Linked DNA regions of Homo sapiens: region 2 is linked to region 1. Evidence: promoter capture Hi-C in human tissues and cell types (Jung and others, 2019). All regions are on one chromosome and are shown on one strand. Each heading gives the region's core, a stretch centred on a gene start or on the middle of the fragment in contact. The rest is flanking DNA. Distances are from core to core; before and after follow the strand shown.

Region 1 (4,180 bases), core at 887-3,386:
ATGAACCACCGTGCCCAGCCAAACCTTTTTTCTTTTCATTACCATTTCAGGATTCTGTTTAAAACAGAGGTAAGAAATGAGGTTTATTTGAAGCCAGGCCCTGTACAAAGTCTTTGTTAGTTGAAATATTTCTCAGAGGTACATAAAGCCTCTAAAGCTCTTATTACCTATTTACTAACCCTCCCTTTTAAATACGTTTACTGCTTTTACTACTAGATTTTTTTTAATGGGAGGCGTATTTTTACAGTTTCCTATTTGCAAGGTGGGAAAACGGAAACAAAGATTCTGTTCTCTTCTTGTAAGGACCCTAATCCCATCACAAGGGCCCGCTCTCATGATCTCATCTAACCTCCCAAACGTCCCATCTCCAAATACTATCACACTGGGGGTCAGGGTGTCCACATATGAATTTGAGAGGGACACAATTCAGTCTATGACATGGACTCTGTTCCTAGTGGAGAGTGGTGGAACGAAGGAGGCAGTTACTGCAAGCATGAATACATCCGCACATGGTCTGGCTCATCACAGAGGGCAAAGGTAAGATCCTGTGAACTTTGTGCTCCACCGCCACAGTGTTACAAAAACACTCTCTTCTCCAGAAAAATGGAAGGAGGAGGCAATGTTGGGCTAGCATTCCTGCCTGGTATCACTGGCTGAGACTGAGCAGTGGCTTCCCTCTTTGCACAGGAAAAGGGCTCTCCAGGTCTCCCAGGTCCCCACCACTCCCTGTCATCTTAGACTCTTTTAACTTCTCTTCTTTGATTTACCCACCACCTGGCCAGAGCAGACACTTAGGTTTGTTACCTCTGGTTGGTGACTATGGCTGACAACCTTTTTTGTGGTTCTAGACACTTCAGAATCTAGTGAGAGTTGTCGACCCTCTGTCTAGCAAGAGCACATCACAACACATTGTGCGTTCAATTTAGAGGTTTGTGGCCTCTCCTAAGCCCAGGCTACAGACTCTCAGGGTGAGAATTTCTGAGTCAGAGATAATGTTGTCCTCTTCCATCTTCAAACCATCTTTTCCCATGGTTGGCTCCTTCTCAACACTGGAGTTTCAACTCAAACAGCAACTCCTAGATGTCTTCCCTGACCCACAGTTAGGTAGCTGTCCATCCTCCCTCTCCTGCTCCTTTTTATCTCAGCTTTTATTTTCCCTAGGAGACTTCTCGCTCTCTGAAATGGTCTGGTTCAGGCTGTATTGTTTGACTTAGCCCTCACCCCCTGAATGTAATATTAGCGGGCACTGTAGCCCAGCGGAACCCACCAGGCACTTGGTAAGATCTTGCTGAAATGTATGAATGATTGGAAGTGTGTCCGGAGTTGGTTTCTTCCAGTGGGTTCCTAGTCTCGCTGACTTCAAGAATGGAGCCGCGGACCTTCGCAGTGAGTGTTAAAGCTCTTAAAGATGGCACAGTCCCAAAGAGTGAGCAGCAGCAAGATTTATTGTGAAGAGCAAAAAGCTTCTGCAATGCGAAAGGGCACCTGAGAGGGTTGCTGCTGCTGGCGGGGGTGGCCAGCTTTTATTCCCTTATTTGCCCCCTCCCCCACGTCCCCCCGCCCTCCCCCGCCCCCCGCCGTCCCCCCGCCCTCCCCCCCGCCCCCGTCTTCCCGCCCCCCCCGCCCCCGTCTTCCCCCCGCCCACCCCGCCCCCCCCGCCCCCCTTCGCCCCCCCATGTTCCGTTTTTGTCCTATCAGAGCGCCCTTTTTTCAATCCTCCCTGTGATTGGCTTCTTTTAGGATCCTGCTGATTGGTGCATGTTACAGAGCACTGATTGGTGCGTTTTACAGAGCGCTGATTGGTGCATTTTACAATCCTCTTGATAGCTATAGAAAAGTTCTCCAAGTCTCCACTCACCCAGAAAGTCCAAATGGCTTCACTTCTCAGAAGGATCCCTCCATCTCGGGCTCCTAGAGGCTTCAGGCAGGAGGAGCCACGTGAGAGAGAAACCCTGCCTACGGTGACCTCCAGTTCCTAGACCACCCACTCGGAGCACGGCGCTCGGCTGTGCCCGTGAGCCTCAGGAGGGCGGAAGCTTCCGGGCCGGAACGGGTGTGCACAGCGCGCCGGTTACGGGGGGGCAACTTAACGGGCCGGACCGCGGCGACTACCGAGGGAGGTGAGGGGCGGGCCGGGCGGGTGTCCGAGGCGGCGGCGGCGGCATGGCAGGGCGGCGGGTGAACGTGAACGTGGGCGTGCTGGGCCACATCGACAGCGGCAAGACGGCGCTGGCGCGGGCGCTAAGCACCACAGCCTCCACCGCCGCCTTTGACAAGCAGCCGCAGAGCCGCGAGCGCGGCATCACGCTCGATCTGGGCTTCTCGTGCTTCTCGGTGCCGCTGCCCGCGCGCCTGCGGTCGTCTTTGCCCGAGTTCCAGGCAGCGCCCGAGGCCGAGCCCGAGCCCGGCGAGCCACTGCTTCAGGTCACGCTGGTCGACTGCCCCGGGCACGCCTCCCTCATCCGGACCATCATCGGCGGTGAGCGCGGGCCGGGGCGGGAGCCGGGCTCAGGGACGCGGGCGGAGCGACCGGGCCCCGTGTCCGAATTCGCTCGAGCCTTTGCCGGGACGGGAAATCGCCCCACCTCATTGGTGGGGCTCCTGACGCCCCAAGAGGCGGACGTGACTTGCCTAGGGCTCCGCAGCAAGTGAGCGGAGGCTTTGAGATTCAGCTTTTCCCATCCAGCAGAACCGAGCTGCAAGGCGCCTTCCTTAAAAAAAAAAAAAAAAAAAAATCAAAAAATCCCTACCAAATGTGTTTATAATACATGGTCAAGTAAAGAAAACTCAAAATAAGAAAACTCACAAGCTACAAAAAGGGTATACATACAAAGGCTGTCTTCATTCACCTGTCATTTGGTCTGATTCCCGTTCCTAGAGCCAACCGCTGCTACCAGTTTTTGTATATCATTTCAGAAAGGCTCCACGTCAATACAAGCATATCTGTGTGTATGTATAAATCCCTCTTTCCCTCATCCTTTTAGACACGATTTCACTCAACATTGTGTCTGGAGAGTGCCCCATATCTGTACACAAAGCTACATCATTCTTTTTAAAGCTCACATAGAATTCAACTGCACCCTTGTACCAACATTTTCTTTTTCTTTTTTTTTTTTTCTTTTTGAGACAGAGTCTTGTTCTGTCGCCCAGCCTGGAGTGCAGTGGCACGATCTCGGCTCACTGCAACTTCCGCCTCCTGGGTTCAAGCGATTGTCCTGCCTCAGTCTCCTGAGTAGCTGGGATTACAGGCGCGCGCCACCACGCCCGGCTAATTTTTTTGTATTTTCAGTAGAGACGGGTTTCACCATGTTGGTCAGGCTGGTCTCAAACTCCTGACTTCATGACCCGCCCGCCCTGGCCTCCCAAAGTCCTGGGATTACAGGCGTGAGCCACCACGTCCGGCCTGTACCAACATTTTCTGAACAAATCTTTTAATGATGGACGTTTATGCTGTTTCCAGTATTTACAAACCATTTTGCAGTGAATATTCTAGAACAGAACTCTTTGGTATGTTCGCATATATGTAGGATAATAGATAATAACTGGCTGGGGCAAGGGGCATGTGTGTTTTCGGTCGTGGTGGGTACTGCCAAAATGCCCCACAAAGAGGTACCATTAATTTTTAATTATACATGTAATACATGAATACATGCTACTTGTGAAGAAATAGAACATCACAAATAAGACAAACATTCCCTTACCCACTCCTCTGTCCTAAATTCTGTACCCCTCCTATCTCTGCAAATGAAAAGACCCGTTTTTTGTTTTTTTGTTTTTTTGTTTTTTTCTGAGATGGAGTCTCGCTCTGTTACCAGGCTGGAGTGCAGTGGTGCAATCTTGGCTCACTGCAACCTCTTTCTCCCCGGTTCAAGCGATTCTCCTGCCTCAGCCTCCCAAGTAGCTGGGACTACAGGTGCACATCACCACACCTGGCTAATTTTTATATTTTTAGTAGACATGGGGTTTCACCATATTGGCCAGGATGGTCTTGATCTCGACCTCGTGATCCCCATGCCTCGGCCTCCCAAAGTGCTGGGATTACAGGTGTGAGCCACTGTGCCTGGCTGAAAAGACCATTATTATACCTTTGTGGATTACTTTTCCAGACCCATTTAACTCCACTTAAATATATGGATAGAGTTTTAAAACATGTTTTGTTTTTAGAAAAAATGATACAATA
Region 2 (4,180 bases), core at 654-3,153, 540 kb after region 1:
GCGCCTGTAATTCCAGCTACTCGGGAGGCTGAGGCAGGAGAACAGCGTGAACCTGGGAGGCGGAGATTGCAGTGAGCTGAGATCACACCACTGCACACTCCAGCCTGGGTGACAGAGCAAGACTCCATCTCAAAAAAAAAAAAAGATTCTGGAGTTCTGGTCTGGACTTGCCACTGGTGTTGGGGGAGAGGGTGGTCTTGGAGAATGAGCAATCAACCTGTGAGATCTGACACTATCAGATAGTGTCGGAACTGAATTAGAGGACACCTACCTGGTGTCCACTGCTTGATGTGTGGGGAAAACCCCCTACACATTTGGCCACAGAAGTCTTGATGTTGATGATTGTTGTCATGTGAGAGTAGAGGAAAGATGTGGTTTACAGGGTGTTTTCACTACACAATACACTCTCAAAGACATAAAAGTAAGAGCTGGCTAGGCGTGGTGGTTCACGCCTGTAATCCCAGCACTATGGGAGGCCGAGGCCGGTGGATCACCTGAGGTCAGGAGTTCAAGACCAGCCTGGCCAACATGGTGAAACTCTGTCTCTACTGAAAAAAAATAGCCAGGTGTTGTGATGTGCGCCTATAATCCCAGCTACTCGGGAGGCTGAGGCAGGAGAATCGCTTGAACCCAGGAGGCCGAGGTTGCAGTGAGCCAAAATCGCGCCACTGCACTCCAGCCTGGGCAGCAGAGCAAGACTCCGCCTGAAAAAAAAAAAATATAAGAGCTAAAACTATAAAAATCTTAGAAGCAAGGATGGAGGGAAAGCTTCATGATTTTGGATTTGGTGATGATTTTGTGGCTATGACACCACAGGCACAGGCAACAAAAGAAAAATAGACAAACTGGGGCCGGGTGTGGTGGCTCACGCACTTTGGGAGGCTGAGGCGGGTGAATCACCTGGGCTCAGGAGTTCGAGACCACCCATGGCAACATGGTGAAACCCCATCTCTACTAAAAATACAGAAAAATTAGCTGGGAATGGTGGCGTGCTCCTGTAGTCCCAGCTACTTAGGAGGCCAAGGCGAGAATCGCTTGAGCTCTGGAGGAGGAGGTTGCAGTGAGCCAAGATTGCATCACTGCACTCCAGCTTGGGCTACAGAGTGAGACTCTGTCTCAAAAAAAAAGACAAATTAGACCTCATTGAAATTAACTTTTGTGCATTGAAGGGTTGGAAAGCTTTGATACATTTCCTCACCAATCATAAAGGTCATGGCCAACATGCCTATGACAAAAGACAGAATTACAAGAGAAAATAATAACAAACTTATTTACAACATTTTACACAATACAGGAGCTTCTGGAAATGAAGACCTAAAGACCAAGGGAAAACTATTTGTATGCTTAGGTTGAATGAAGAATGGACAGCCATGTAGAAATATGATTGGACAAAAAGGGTGTGATCTAATAGTAATACACTGAGGGGAAGAAACCCAGTAAGGTTCAAATTCTTCTTGGTCTCTCAGTGTAGCATTTCTTTGCCCTAGGTATCGGCAGGACTCTTCTGGAATGAGGGTCTTCAAGGGAGAAGAGGAGAGTAACCTCGCTTTTTTTTTCTTTCTTTTTTTTTTTTTTTTGAGACAGTCTTGTTCTGTCATCTAGGCTGGAGTGCAGTGGCATAATCTCAGCTCACTGCAACCTCTGCCTCCTGGGTTCAAGCAATTCTCCTGCCTCAACCTCCCCTGCCTCAGCCTCCTGAGTAGCTGGGACTACAGGCGTGTGCCACCACGCCCAACTTTTTTTTTTTTTTTTTTTTTTTGTATTTTTAGTAGAGACGGGGTTTCACCATGTTGGCCAGGGTGGTGTCGAACTCCTGACTTCAGGTGATCCGCCCATCTCGGCCTCCCAAAGTGCTGGGATTACAGGAATGAGCCACCGTGCCCAGCCTAGACAGAGTAACTTTTCTAGGTTTTGTGGCTAGCTCTGGGGGAGTGGGATTCTAGTTACTACAACCTGCCTTGGGAAGAAGGGTTCTGATTCTCACTTCAGTGGAGAAAGAGGGATGGGAGATAGGAGGGCAGGAGAAGGTCAGAGAGAGACTTTGCTTCTGGAACCTTTCAGTCTCCTTTAGTTCAAAGCACTCAGCATGCTAAAGCAGCATACTTTGGGGTATCATTTTCTGAGCCTGAACAGCATCAAAGAAAAACAAAGGGTTCTGGTATATTTATGGGAGGCCATTGATTTGGTTTTTTTGTTTGTTTGTTTTATGAGACACGGTCTCACTCTGTTGCCCAGGCTGGCGTGTAGCGATGCCATCATGACTTACTGCAGTCTTGACCTCCTGGGCTCAAGCGATCTTACCACTTCATCCTCCCCGGTAATTGGGACTACTATTTTTTTGTAGAGAAGAGGTTTCATCATACTGCCCAGGCTATTGTTGAACTCCTGAGCTCAAGGGATCCTCCCACCTCGGCCCCTGAAAGTGCTAGAATTACAGGTGTGAGCCACAGTGCCTGGCCAAATGGAGGCCATTGATTTGTACTGAGCTCCTCCTACACTAGGCCCCTACAGGCTGACCCAAAATGGAGTCACTCATGCTAAGGTTCCATGTCACCAAACTGAAACCTAAGCTGTTTGCTTATAAGATCTGACCTTAGGGCTGGGCGTGGTGGCTCACGCCTGTAATCCCAGCACTTTGGGAGGCCGAGGCGGGTGGATCACTTGAGGTCAGGAGTTCGAGACCAGCCTGACCAACATGGTGAAACCCCATCTCTACTAAAAATACAAAAATTAGCTGGGTGTGGTAGTGCATGTCTGTAATCCCAGCTACTTGGGAGGCTGAGGCAGGAGAATTGCATGAACCCAGGAGGCAAACGTTGCCGTGAGCTGAGATCGTGCCACTGGACTCCAGCCTGCGCAACAGAGCAAAACTCTTGTCTAAAAAAAAAAAAAAAAATCTGACCTTCTGAGAAATCAGGAGAGAGGCAACAGTCAAATCCCCAATAGGTCAGTTTTACAAAAAAATAGATTCACAGCAACCAATCAAAAGGGGCCCATTCAACCTAAGCTGCTTGATAAGGAAGTCCCCTCTGCTTTAAGCCATGCAAGGAAAGTAACCCGAAGGAACCTAATGTTAACCAATCCACTTTTTTTTTTTTTTTGAGATGGAGTCTCGCTCTGTAGCCCAGGCTGGAGTGCAGTGGCGCAATCTCGGCTCACTGCAACCTCCGCCTTCCGGGTTCACGCCATTCTCCTGCCTCAGCCTCCCAAGTAGCTGGGACTACAGGCGCCCGCCACCAAGCCCGGCTCATTTTTTTTGTATTTTTAGTAGAGACGGGGTTTCACCATGTTAGCCAGGATGGTCTCGATCTCCTGACCTCGTGATCTGCCCTCCTTGGCCTCCCAAAGTGCTGGGATTACAGGCATGAGCCACCGCGCCCAGCCAACCAATCCACTTTTTCCACTATGCTGTTTCCTTGTTCCTGGTCAAGCTGCCTGCCTTAGAAAAACCTACTGCTCTGCCATGCCTGGTAGAGCTCCTGTCTATTTTGTAGGCTGGATGTTGCTCAGTTCATGAATCACCAATAAAAGCTAATTAGATCTTTATTTTTTTTACAGACAGTGTCTTGCTCTGTCACCCAGGCTACAGTGCAGTAGTGCAATCCTAGCTCACTGTAACCTTAAACTCCTAGGCTCTGGTGATCCCCCCACCCCGGCCTCCCAAAGTAAGGAGATTACAAGCATGAGATACCACATCTAGCCAAATCTTTAAAACTCAATGTGTTGAAATTGTGTTTTTGACACAACACACAGAATAGGAGAAAATATTTGTGAATCATATATCTGATAAGAGATTAATATCCAGAATGCATGCAGAACTCCTAAAACTCAACAACAGAAAACCCATTTTCAAAATAAGCAAGGGTTGCACAGCAATCTGAACATACTTAATATCTGTGTGAGATAGAGGAACAAACCTAAGTGATTTTTCCTACTCTTACCCAGTCACTCAACACTGCCAACAGCAGATATGCGGGGGTTATTTCCCCACACACCAAACATCGATTCTGCGGATTCCCCAGTAGACATCAGCTGGGTGTCCTCCAGTTCAGTTCTGACACCATCTACCTGGAGATAGTGTCAGATCCCACAGGTTGAGGGCTCTAGTCCCACAAGGCTGCCCCCCACTTCAGATGCTGCAAGCACGGGTCGTGGTCTGTGCTTCTGACCAATTGGCTAT

What was found. Contacts are between HindIII fragments. The study calls those that stand out against the background at their distance.
Region 2: a fragment that was not itself captured here is called in contact with the fragment with the promoter of EEFSEC in region 1 in 1 of the 25 tissues and cell types used here (dorsolateral prefrontal cortex).

What each region holds. Positions count from the first base shown.
Region 1 is chr3:128,151,345-128,155,524 of GRCh38, forward strand. EEFSEC (eukaryotic elongation factor, selenocysteine-tRNA specific) reads left to right here and starts at 2,137. Exons shown (of 7, transcript NM_021937.5): 1 at 2,137-2,479. The coding sequence starts at 2,164. It also overlaps a transcript of RUVBL1 not described here. RefSeq lists an enhancer at 1,768-1,997 and a silencer at 2,128-2,647. The HindIII fragment of the contact is 4,118 bases long and covers 1,750-4,180 here.
Region 2 is chr3:128,688,929-128,693,108 of GRCh38, forward strand. No RefSeq gene overlaps it. Among named protein-coding and RNA genes, the nearest start is that of RAB7A, 35 kb to the right of the region's middle. The HindIII fragment of the contact is 7,361 bases long and covers 1-4,180 here.